2 separate regions of the Homo sapiens genome follow, and region 2 is linked to region 1. Evidence: promoter capture Hi-C in 16 types of primary human blood cells and fetal thymus (Javierre and others, 2016). All regions are on one chromosome and are shown on one strand. Each heading gives the region's core, a stretch centred on a gene start or on the middle of the fragment in contact. The rest is flanking DNA. Distances are from core to core; before and after follow the strand shown. Region 1 holds the start of BRD3OS (BRD3 opposite strand). Region 2 holds the start of QSOX2 (quiescin sulfhydryl oxidase 2).

The links. Contacts are between HindIII fragments. The CHiCAGO score rates a contact against its expected background, and 5 or more counts as called.
Region 2: the fragment with the promoter of QSOX2 here is called in contact with the fragment with the promoter of BRD3OS in region 1 in 2 of 17 cell types (neutrophils and monocytes); the score reaches 6.9 in neutrophils.

The regions. Positions count from the first base shown.
Region 1 is chr9:134,023,014-134,029,290 of GRCh38, reverse strand. It overlaps BRD3OS (BRD3 opposite strand), which reads right to left and starts at 3,810. Exons shown (of 3, transcript NM_001355256.2): 1 at 3,755-3,810; 2 at 3,201-3,446; 3 at 1-3,083. The coding sequence starts at 2,543. The coding sequence ends at 2,289. RefSeq lists silencers at 3,517-3,936, 4,247-4,376. The HindIII fragment of the contact is 9,456 bases long and covers 1-5,851 here.
Region 2 is chr9:136,242,993-136,249,269 of GRCh38, reverse strand. QSOX2 (quiescin sulfhydryl oxidase 2) reads left to right here and starts at 3,458. Exons shown (of 12, transcript NM_181701.4): 1 at 3,458-3,794. The coding sequence starts at 3,467. RefSeq lists an enhancer at 569-1,423 and silencers at 3,221-3,490, 3,521-3,930. The HindIII fragment of the contact is 4,512 bases long and covers 1,297-5,808 here.

The DNA of each region.
Region 1 (6,277 bases), core at 2,561-5,060:
GCATGTCTGCGCTGCCTCCCATGCTTGGGGCCAACCCCGCCACAACCCGTCCTCAGGGGAGTCTGTGGTGCGGTGAGAAGGTGGCACACAGGCATTCCAGATTTGCCTCTGGAGTTTGCTTTCTTCCCAGGCAGGACTTAAACTGAAGAACTGAAAAGATGCAGACAAACCCTACCTAGCGGATGTGGAGTGCTTCCTTGGCGGGCCCGCCTTGCTGTGGGAGTGTCAGCCGGCGGGGCAGGTCCTCCAGCCCCATGCTCACTCCCTCTGCAGCTCCATGCGGCAATCCTGGAAGTCTGACTTCAAATCTCCCAGCTGCAGGCTGCAAACAAGCCAGGACTCTCGCAGAAGGGACTCGGGCTGTGCAGGAGGCTGCTGCCGACCAGGCCTCTGGCAGGACATTTGGGGAATGCACTTTGACCCAGCAGTTCCACTTCTAGGACGTTTGCGAATGAACTTGCACAGCTGCAAAGAGAAGCACGAACAGAGTACAGGCACATTCAGAACATGCTGTTTGCACAGATGACAACCTGGATGCTGTCACTGTGCCCGTCTGTGGGCTCACGGGAGAGCTGCGAGTCAGAGGTTAAAAGCATGAAGTGGGCCGGGTGCGGTGGCTCACGCCTGTAATCCCAGTACTTTGGGAGGCCGAGGTGGGCAGATCACCTGAGATTGGCAGTTCGAGACCAGCCTGGCCAACATGGTGAAACCTTGTCTCTATTAAAAATAGAAAAATTAGCCAGGCGTGGTGGCAGGCACCTGTAATTCCAGCTACTCAGGAGGCTGAGGCAGGAGAATCGCCTGAACCCAGGAGGCAGAGGTTGCAGTGAGCTGAGATTGTGCCATTGCACTCCAGCCTGGGCAACAGAGTGAGACTCTCTTAAAAAAAAAGAAAAGCATTAAGTGAATGCCCAGTCTGTACAGTTGAGCAAGAAAGAAAATGGCGGATACAAGAGGCATGGTGCAGGATGAGGCCGTCAGAATCACGTGACCGTGTGTGCATGCTGAGGAGCTGTGGGACGCATCCCCAGCTGCCGGCCGGGTTCTCCCCACGGAGAGCACTTGTGCTTTGCTTTATGCCTTTGTGTATTGCAGTCTTTAGCAATCAATTACATATTACTGCTATAAAAAATGGGAAGCCAAGTAGGATATTACGAACAAGGATAAAAATAAGTGTGAGGAAGGGGAGGAGTGTATTAAAGGATGTTTATTTAGAAAAGAAAAATTAGCTTTGACAAGAGACACCTGCACATTTGTGTAGCCAAGGAGATGTCAGTGAGAGCAGAAGGTGAATCCTTCATGGAGACTGAACACAGGTGGCCAGCTGTGGCAGCGACAGTGAACACATGTCAGTGTCGGCCTGGGGGCAGAGTGGTTGAATGCTTTAAGTCTGGTGGAGAGCCTGCCTTGCTCAGCCCTGTTACTACATGGAAGTCACTGTAGGCCACACATGTGCAACTTACAACTCTCGGGTTTCCTGAATGTGTTTTGGATGCACTGGCCAGTGGGCCGCAAATGCTTGGAAGCTACCATGATGCTTCACAGATGATGATCATTTTGGTAACTCAAAATATAAATGCGGGCTTGGTGCGGTGACCCATGCCTGTAATCCCAGCACTCTGGGAGGCTTGAGCCCAGGACTATAAGACCAGACCAGCCTGGGCAACATAGGGAAACCCTGTCTCTATATACAGTAGTTCGCCTGGAGCCACAGCTACCTGGGAGGCTGAGTTTGGGAGGATCACCTGAGCCCAGGAGATAGAGCCTACAGTGAGCTGTGATTGTGCCACTGTATTCCAGCCTGGGTAACAGAGTGAGACCCCGTCTCAAAAAAGCAAAATACAAAATGTAATGCGACAAAGCTCCTGGTGAGATGCTGCTGCTACTCCGCCATTTATGCTAAAAACAAAAAACTAAAACCTAAAAAACTTGAAAAGGTGGTTTGTAATGGGGATGGGAGGGTTACTCTTGGCCTGGTTTAAACCAAGCATCTAGCAGTGCCCGGGCCTATGCTGTCCCTAGCAGCACCTGGAGAATTCAAATGTCACAACAGCTGACCACGGAGGGGACTCTAGAGGGGAAGTGTCCTGTGCACCAGTCACACCGCGGCTGTGCTGAGGGGTTCGGGGGCCAATTCTGCGCTTCTTGGGTTCTTACACCACAGTTTGATCTTCACGTTCATTATTCAAAATCTTCCAGCAAGGATTGGAAATCAACAAGACAACTGAATGAAACTCAGGTCTGTTTTCCTCAAAGTGTGGTCCTGGGTTCAGGTGCTCACATCGGAATTACATAATTGTGCAAAACTTGGACTGCCCTGTGTCCCTAGAGACCTCGAGCTTGTTTTTGTCTCGGACCAAGATGGCCTCATTTCCATACTGTGAGTACCACATGCTTCGGCTCCTGCTCAGGTACGTCCCAGGTGGCACCGACTCCAACTTCTGCTGTTGCTGCTGCCAGATGAGCAAGGAGGTGTCCCTGTACCGGAGGCGGGCGTAGCCTTCAGACAAGGCCTTCTCTGCCAGGGGGACACGGCCACTCATCCCCTCCCCCGTCCCGCTGGACTCCTGGGAACCCTGCTGTTCTGAGACGGCCCACGCGCACTAAATTAACGGACAGCTTTCCCAGCTTTGGGGCTTAAGGATCCCTCGTTTAACTGAATGGTAGAAATTAGGAATTCCGCCCATTTGCAGGCAACGTCCTCAGGAGGGTTGTGTGGTGAGGAAATGAGGCGGCCTCACCATTCTGAAGACACCTGAGACCCATTCAGGGGACCGCACACAGGTCAGAGCGGCGCCCGGCCACAGCTCTTCCGGGTGCAGCTGTGTGGAATTGACAGGGACGAGGCGTCACACCCTGGGGGGTGATTCTGCCACCATGGCCTGGACCACTGAGCTTGAAGAGATGGATCCAGTGCCCTGAGGAAGGGACATGGTGGCCCCAGACGCAAGCTGGAAGGAGCTCCGGTGGCACGCCCCGCACGCATCTGTCCGGGCCAGCTTTCAGGGCAACGGCTGTTCTGACCCACCCTGGGGATCCAGCCCCAGCGTTTGTTCAGGTCTCGTCTCTCCCCAAAGGTGCTGCTGCAAAGGAACGAACGTGCTGTCAGGAGAGGGGAAGTCAAGCGCCCCGGCAGCGGCGGCAGTCTGCAGCGCAGCATCAAGTCTCTGGGGGTCAGCGGCCTAGATCGAGCTACTTACGTCCCGTGGGGCAGCCTGGGAGCTGGGTGGAGAGTGAGACGGGCGCCCAGTGCCAGCTTTTTCAGTCACTGGGAGGTGCTGGGGAGGCTGCTTGTTGGGGCTTCAGGGTCTCCATCTGTGAAACAGGAGCCAGCGGCGCTTGAAAGGGCGCGGGTTCCCGGAGACGCCGCCAGGCGTCAGCCCCGGGACCGGAAGGGGCCCCCAGGGCCGCCTTGCTGCTCCGAGCATCCAGCTCCCGTGAGGCCCCTGGACCCAAACAAAAACGATGTCAGGAGAAAACAAACAGGGAAGCATCGCAACCCACTCCCGAACGCCTTCCCAGCTGCGCAGCGTCAGGGACCTCCCCTCCTGGGATGCCTGCGCTAGGTCAGCCTCAGCTTCCCGGGCCCCCATCGCGCGTCCCCGCCACCTGCGCGCACCCTGGGGTCCCCGTCGCGTGGCCCGCGGCCCCCATCCCCGCGCCCCAGACCCCGCGCGCTCTGGGTCGCCCCATCCTCCAGCCCCCTATCGTCTGCCCGCATCCCCGGGTCCCCCACGTCGCCCGCCCCAGTCACCGCTCGTCGCGGGCCTCGGAGATGCGGGCAGCGGCGCGACGCACTGCGGGGCTCCCAGGGCGGGGCCGGCGGCCGCTGGGCCGTGTCTCCATGGCAGCGCCGCAGGCCTGGCGAGCCGAGCGCAGAGGCTGGGCAGGCGTGTGCGACGAGCCCAAGCCATCGATCGCTCCGCGAGGAGGGGCTGGGCCCGCCCCGAATAGGAACTGGAAGAGGAGGAGGAGGGGCTGGAGGAGGAGGGGCTGGAGGAGGAGGGGCTGGAGGAGGAGGAGGGAGGAGGAGGAGGAGCTGGGAGAGGAGGGGCTGGGAGAGGAGAAAGGGCTGGATGAGGAGGAGGGGCTGGAGGAGGAGGAGGGGCTGGGAGAGGAGGAGCTGAACGAGAAGGAGGAGCAGAAGGAGGAGTGGAGGAGAAGGAGGAGCAGGAGGAGGAGCTGGGGGAGGAGGAGGAGCTGAGAGAGGAGGAGGAGATGGAGGAGGAGGGGCTGGATGGTGAGGGGCTGGGAAAGGAGGAGGGGCTGGGAGCGGAGGTGGGAGGAGGGGCTGGCAGAGGAGAAGGGGCTGAGGAGGTACTGGAAAAGAAAGAGGAGCAGGAGCTGGAGGAAGACGTGGAGGAGGAGCTGGAGGAGGATGAAGAGAAGGAGTGGGACGCCCACAACCCTGTTAGTAAGACACTGCCGGACTGTATGGTCTTATCATCTTGGTTTTCGTATTTCTGCTTGTGTGGTTACTTTTGCCACTGCTGTTACTGCTTTTATTAGTATTCTTACTCTCAGTAATTGATACAATTATTTTTAATTAATTAAATGTCCGGGCTTACTATCTCAAAAATAGGTCTTGAATTTCTCCATCTCATCCAACCAAGCCAGGCCTCTATACTGCTCATTTGGACTCCTCAACAGCCCCATGAAAGCAAGGTCTATTTCCTTTTCTCACTCCACCTCCAATCATACTCCAATAGCACTCTTTTAGTATCTACCCTTTTCCCCTAATTTTATGGTTTTCTCCAATGCCAATTAAGAAAACTAGCATAATGGAACCTGGTGTGGTGGCTCACCTCTGAGTCCCACCTACTTGGGAGGCTGAGGCAGGAGGATCCCTTGAGCCAGGAGTTCGAGGCTGCAGTGAGCCATAATCATGCCACTGCACTTCAGCTGGGACGAAACAGCAAAACCCCATCTCTAAAAAAAAAGAAAATAAGCATAACAGACATCCAAGGAAGATGCTTAGTGTGAGCACTAAGCCCACAGCTGTGGAACGCACATTCTTTTTTTTTTTTTTTTTGAAAGGGAATCTCACTCTGTCACCCAGGGTGGAGTGTGGTGGCACGATCTCAGCTCACTGCAACCTCCGCCCCCCAGGTTCAAGCGATTCTCCTGCCTCAGCCTCCTGAGTAGCTGGGACTACAGGCGCCGGCAACCACGCCCAGCTAATTTTTGTATTTTTAGTAGAGACAGGGTTTCACCATATTGGCCAGGCTGGTCTCGAACTCCTGACCTTGTGATCCGCCTGCCTCGCACTTTCTTCACAAGTACCTACACAGGACGTTTAGCAAAACTGATCACATGCTGGACCATAAATCAGTTTCAACAAATTTGAAAACGTTTAAATCTTACATGATCTCCCAGTCTTCCGACCTGGGAAAAGACAGCAACCGAAGTTATACTGCTTTCAAGAGACACAAGAACAGGCCTGTATTCAAAGACCCATTTAACACTTTTACCTCTATCTGGCTGGGTGCGGTTTTCACGCCTGTAATCCCAGCACTTTGGGAGGCCTAGGCGGTCACATCACTTGAGGTCAGGAGTTCGAGACCAGCCTAGCCAACATGATGAAACCCTGTCTCTACCAAAAATATAAAAAATTAGCCCAGTGTGGTGGCAGGCGCCTGTAATCCCAGCTACTCAGGAGGCTGAGGCAGGAGAATCTCTTGAACCCAGGAGGCGGAGGTTGCAGTGAGCTGAGATTGCACCATTGCACTCCAGCTTGGGTGACAGAGTGAGACCCCATCTCAAAAAAAAAAAAAAAAAATTGCCTCTAAGCTAATATAATTTGTTCTATGCCTTGAACTAAATAATTTGAATATTTAGTTACCTGTAAGCTTCCTTTTCCTGTCGTTGTCAAAACCAAATAGGACTTATATTTCTGTTCGAAACATTTACTTATGTTTTGTTTTCCAGAGTCAAAAAGCTGTTTTTCCTTTTAAGCTATTTTATAGCTACAACAATTAAGTAAAAAATGAAGATTACCTCTCTTTTTCTACCTGATATCTCCAGAATCTGAAAATGATTTAAAATCCCATTGGCTCCAATCTGATTTGATATCAAACACCCTCCCTCTAGGCCCAGGGACAATTGCAGAAGAGGTAAACGCATGAGATTGTAAGGGCTGGTTTCGAGGGATAAAATTTGTTCAGACCCTCTGAATCAAAGATGGTTCACAAATACCTAAATAGCTGATAGCTCAATACATAAAACTTAGAGATAAGTCAATTTTGTAACCTCACGTTTTGGATTTTGGTTTTTGCCT
Region 2 (6,277 bases), core at 2,209-4,708, 2.2 Mb before region 1:
CTAGGGGTCTGGCAGGAGCCCCTGCCCCCAGACGTGCCTCCATGTCCACAGTCCCTGGAGGGTGGCCACCCACCTCCTCATGGTGTCCTAGTGAGGACATGAAGAATTGTTCCCTCAGGCACTGTCCCGGGCACGTCGCCAGTGCTCAGGGGCTGGCACAGGTGTGCAGAATTTTTCCTCAGAAGTTTTCCCAAAATGGGTGGTGGTCGTTAAGCAGCTGAGCCCTCCATGCCAAACTCCTGCTAAAGGGGGAGACGTGGACAGCAGGGCAAGTCCTGGAGCCGGGGCCATTGAAATCCATTGGGCCTCATCTCTGCTCTCCCCATGTGGAAAGGGAGGCGGCTCAGAGCTGGGTTCTGTCTTTGTCTCCAATGCAAGCATCAGAGTGGGCCCTCCTGGGTTCTGGGAGGCACGTGGGCCTGAGGCCCTCCTCTCTGTCACATACATGCCATGTGCCCTTCACCTCACACAGTAGTCAGCCCTCTGAGCCTCAGTTTCTCCCTCTGTAAAACAGGAATATCAATACCTGTTCCACGATGGGTAGGCCTCTGCAAACCTGCCCCAAAGATGGAGGAGGCTGAGAGGCAGAAGAAAGAGGCTGACAAGTCCAGTTTCTCAGGAAGAAACATTTAGTAGGGACTTACAAATGGAAGCCACATCTGTGTCTCTGGAGGCACCGACAGACGGGATCCCGCCACCACCCCCAGGCCCAGGGCTTATCTGCCATAGGGGAGGCTGGTTTAGAAGGAACGTGCAGAAACCTGAAGCAGACAGCATCAAGGCTTTGTGCCCTAAGGGTGGGATTTACGGCAAGTACCTGCTCTACACAGGGAACAACAGATCAACTGGAAATCTTGGAGGCCTTCCCGGAATCAGGCTCATCAGGATCCAACACAGCAGATTAGGTCCAAGATGCTGCTGCCTCAGCCTGCACAGTGCCTTATCTCATCATGTCTGAGATGTGATCTCCCCGCATTTTGATCTCTTTGAAGCCAGAGCTGTCTCTGTCAGGGCATCTGAAAATGGCCACTGGCCGCGTGTTTTCTCGCTCCGCGGCACGCACGCTAACCGCGCCTGCAGTCACCTGGCCTTTGCCACAGCGACGTGCGATGCCTCTCCTGCAGGTGGGGTGGGGGGCAGATTTCACGCAGGCTTTGGGCAGGATCTGGCTCAGCACAGACAGCTCTTACGTAGACTCCGAGATTCAATCCTAACCCCTTCCCCTCCCCCGCCCTGCCTTAGATGGGAGAAACTCTGGTTGTTTTGGGGTGTGGCCTCTAAGTGCTGGGCTAAGCTTGGTCCCAGGGGTGGCTCCGTTTCACCGAGCAGGTTTGGGGTGAGGTGTTGCCCCGATGTTCCGAATGTGCCCCTCCAGTTGGGCTCATGACGTCCTCTGTCTCAGCCAGATCAGCCTCCTTTCCTCCACTCCTTGTTCCCCTGCCACCTCGCTGCTGCTCCTTCTGGAGGCCTGGGGCTCAGTGTGTGGCCCTCCCCTCTGTCCCACAGCCTCCCCGGGGGACCTCAAGCAGCCTCAAGCGCTGAGCTCCAGACTCGACTCCCACTTCTAAACCCTGACCTGACACCTCCCTTAGAGGTTGAAAAGGCTGCTCAGATGTAACAGGTCCAAAGCAAACTCATGGCATCCTCCCCAGCATAGCTCTCCCATCTCGCCGCTGCAGGATTTAGTCTCAGCCGTAAGCAACCCCATTCCTCTGGTTGCTTTGGCCCAAACTCTGCGAATGTGACACCCTCTGCCTCCACCCAGACTCAGCCGACCCCTCCACCAGCACTGCCTCTCACCCCTCCCCGGAGTCCCTCCAGCTTGTGGAAGGAGGCGGCGGCCCCTCCCAGGTCCCCTGCTTCCCCTCCTGCCCCTCCTACTCTGCAACTAGAAGGGCAGAGCTGCATCCTTGCACCGATCCTTCCGTGGCCACCCCCCCATTCAGCATCAAAGTCTGAGTCTGCGGCCCAGGTTGTGAGGCCCCCTGGGTCTCGCTCGGGCTCTCAGCTTTTCTTCCCTCCCACGCTTCCCCCAGCTTGCTCCGCTCCCACCAGGTCCGGCTCCTTGCTGTTCCTCCAGCGTGCTCAGCACCCTTCTGCCCCAGGGCCTTTGCATGTGTGCCTCCTCCCTCACCTCCTTCTCCATTCGGGTCACCTTCTCAAAGACCTCCCCACCCTCCTCTGTACGGCAGCCCTGCTGGCACCTGCTTCCGTGTCCGGCTTCATTGCTTTTCATAGCACGCGGTGGCTGCTTTACGCGTTGGTTTGTTTGGGGTCTGCCCAAATGCAGGCCAGGGACACTGGGGGCTCGGTTTTGTTCTTGATTTGTCTCCAGGGCTTGGCACAGAGCAGAAGCCAGGAAACGTGGGTGATGGAAGGAAACATGAACAGGGAGACGCAGGACGTGAGGAAAAGGGAGCAGACGCCTTGGCCAGGGGCCCTCTGGGGAGAATCCTCTCATCTGGGGTTAACCATTGTTAGCAGCAAAACCTTTTAAACAAAATCTTACACAGAACCCCACAATACAGTTATCTATTTATTTTGAGACAAGGTCTCGCTCTGTCATCCAGGCTGGAGTGCAGTGGCAGAGTCACGGCTCACTGCAGCCTCAAGCTCCCAGGCTCAAGCCATCCTCCACCTTAGCCCCTCAAGTAGCTGGGACTACAGGTGTGCACCACCATGCCCGGCTTTTTTCTTTTTTTTAAGAGATGGGCTCTCGCTATGTTGCCCAGGCTCGCCCACTCCCTTGTTTTGTTTTGGTCACACAGTTCAGAGAAAATCTTGACATGTGTAAAAATTAGGAATAGGAACAAAAAAAAAAATCAGGTATCCTGTTCAATGAAGCAAAAAAGTCATATGATTTCATTTCCAAACCGTGAAGCTGCATTCGACTGGAACATCCTAAAAGGTAGCACACAACACATCTGACTTTGAGTGGATGTTTTGCTGCATTTTCTAAGCGTTCCAATATCATATTAAAAAGTCGAGGCTGGCTTGCAGACCCTCTGAAGCCCCAGGTGGGGTTGCCAAGTAAAAGAACCCCGGAATAGTTTTTTACGTCTAAGAATGTCTTGTTAAATTTGTATTTCAGGCATGGCACAGACCTAGGCTGAAAAACCGACTCACTGTTTGTCTGAAATTCACGTTGAACCTGGCGTCGTGCACTTCCATTTGCTAAATGTGGCCACCTGGCCCTGTTCAGGGAAGGGGTTTGGGGAACGCGCGGCGGGGTGGGGCGGGGCCTGGGCGGAGCCTGCCGCGCCTGGGCGGGGAGATGGCGTCATCAGACTCTTGGGGGCGGGGCTGCCACGCATGGGCGGGGGCGGGGGCGGGGAGAGAGGGCGGGGTCAGACGTGAGGGGGCGGGGCGGAACAGAACTGGGCGCGCGGGGGCGGGGCCGGGCGCGCCGGCGCACGTGACGGTGGTTGCCAGGGTGAAAGTTCAGCGCGCCGGCGGCACTTCCAACATGGCGGCGGCCGGGGCGGCGGTGGCGCGCAGCCCGGGAATCGGAGCGGGACCTGCGCTGAGAGCCCGGCGCTCGCCCCCGCCGCGGGCCGCACGGCTGCCGCGGCTGCTAGTGCTGCTAGCGGCGGCGGCGGTGGGGCCGGGCGCGGGCGGTGCGGCGCGGCTGTACCGCGCGGGCGAGGACGCCGTGTGGGTGCTGGACAGCGGCAGCGTGCGCGGGGCCACCGCCAACAGCTCGGCCGCGTGGCTCGTGCAGTTCTACTCGTCGTGGTGTGGCCACTGCATCGGCTACGCGCCCACTTGGCGGGCCCTGGCTGGGGATGTGCGAGGTGAGGCGCGCCCCCGCGCGGGGACCCCCCGACCCCCGGGACCGCGGCCTTCCGGGACCCCTTGCGACCGCCCCAGAAGGCGGGTCCCGGGGCCCCTCCCCCGTATTTCTTTCCTTACCGCAGAGCCAGTCCCTGCCCCACAGAGGCACCCGACTCGGACCAACCCTGGCCTTTCCAGGGGCGGGAGACTAAGCCAGCTGCTCCCCATGTCTCTCCCAGTTAATCCCCGTTAGATCCTGACGAGTTGGGCTGTCTGAAGTCAAAATGAAACCATTCTCCCGCAGCCCTCACCGCACGCTTGGGGATAGGGAAGCCCTCCCGTATCCCAGCTCTCAAAATACCTATGTTTTGAGCCCCAAGAACTTCATTGACCTTCCAGGCCTCCTACCCTACCTGTTTCCTAGCGTCCACACACCCCATCCCCAGTGCCCAGAATTCCTGTTCTCTGAGGATCCCTCATTCCTATTCCACACTCGTAGCCACCCCATTCCCTTTGAACCTTCATCATTAACTTTCTGGTTCGGATCGCTGGCCATATAGTGGGTGCTCAAAGTGAACCCACAACTTAGAAGTCCAAATACTCTGGAGACTTCTCTATAATACCCCAAAACAACCTATAAAGCAATTTTTTTAACTCTACAAAGAATTTCATTGGTGGGCTCCTTGATCACAGATGCACAGCCTTTGAGAAATCTTTCACCAAACTGCTGGTAGTGTTCCGCACTTTATTGTTTAGTGCTTTCATCTGGTCGCACGTTGTTAACCAGTCACGAAGTTACTCGCCTGCTCTACAGGTTAGAGTTGGCGTGGGAGGGGGCATTCACAACACCCTTCCCTTAAAATGGTATTTAAATCACTGAAGTAGGAGGTCCTCCCGACCCAGTGAGGTTTGGCAGGACTTCCTGTGTTGTGCTAACCTCAAATTACATGTTTCAGTGGGCAAGATCTGTAACAAATTGCTACTCTTTCTTCCTGCACCTTTGTTTTTATGCCTTACACCCAATCCTGCTGTATTTTTCTCATCGCAAACAGATTTGTAAAGAAACTTTTTTTCAAGTCTAAGTAGGGCTTTTGTATGTTACTGTAAATGGTTATCTTTAAAATGCATTCTCCTCTTAGAGAGCTGGGGCCTTTTGATTCTAATGGATTCCTCCTCTTTGATCTCATGTTTTCTTATGTCCCTGTTGACCTGACTCAGAACTGAGGTCAGAGACTGGAAGAGATGGACAGAAAAACTGTTCAGTGGGGTTTTTAGACACTGCTTTTAGGAAAACAAACAAGTAATTCAATCACGTAGGGAACCCTTCAGTTCTTGTGTGTTATTCAGTGGCAGAAACAGATATGTTCATTAAAATGCAGGTGGCCCTGGCAGGACTTGGTCACTTTTTTTGTGGGTTTTGGTTTTGATTTTTTTTTTTCAGTTGAGTCGCTGAAGTCTAAAGATCGTACCAGATTCAAATATTGCAAATTCTGTAACCGAAGCAGCACATAGGCAGCCTTGAGAACTGTCCCTGGAGCTCAGAAGGAAGGCCCCTCCTGAGAGCCACACAGTAACGTCCATACCCAGTGGTGTGATGAACTCAACTCAGTAAGCCTCCTTTAGTGAGGCTGACTGTCTTCCCAGTCACGACAGGAAGAACAGGCTTGTGCCTGAGACTGAGACTGGAGGAGGATATGGCTGAAAGTGAAAGACAGCGGTGACCTGACCAGGCAGCAGGGAGAGGGCTTCAGGGAGCCCAGGCAGAGGGTCCTGTTGGCTAAAAAGCCAAACTATAAAATACTGAAAGAGGTTTGTTCTGAGCCAATAAGTGTAGTGGCCATGGCCAGGGGAACAGTGTCAAGAGGTCCTAAGAAAGTGTGCTCTAGGCAGTCACGTTAATTTGATTTTATACATTTTAGGGAGACAGAAGTTATAGGCAGAGAGACATAAATCAGTACATGTAAGGTATAGGAAGGGGTAGGTTTACAGATCATAGGTGGATTCTGACTGGCAATTGATTGAAAGAGTTAAGCTTTGTCTAAAGACTTGAAGTCAGCAAAGAGAAATGCTTGAGTTAAGCTAAAGGGGCTGTGGAGGCCAAGGTTAAGTAGATGAAGCCTCACAGGCAGCAGCCTTGGGGAGAATAGAGGGTAAATGTCTCTTTTCAGACCTGAATGCTGTCAGACTCGTTAAATGTCTCCTAGATCCAGGAAAGACCTAGAAAGGGAGGGAGATTCTCTACAGATGCAAATTTCCCTCACAAAAGACAGCTTTGCAGGACCATTTCAAATATGTCAGGGAAATAAATGTATTTGGGGGTGAAATATTTTGATTTCCTGCAGGGTGTGCTATTTGTCATGTGGTGCTGTACCCGAGTCAGGCTGGAGTTTGGTGTCGTTGCTGCTGAGGCTGTGCTGTCTGTCTGTGATCTCTGTTTCATCACGCTGGTCAGCTCTGCCTAAACTCCAAAGGGAGGTGATGTAACCAGGCGTGTCTGACCTCC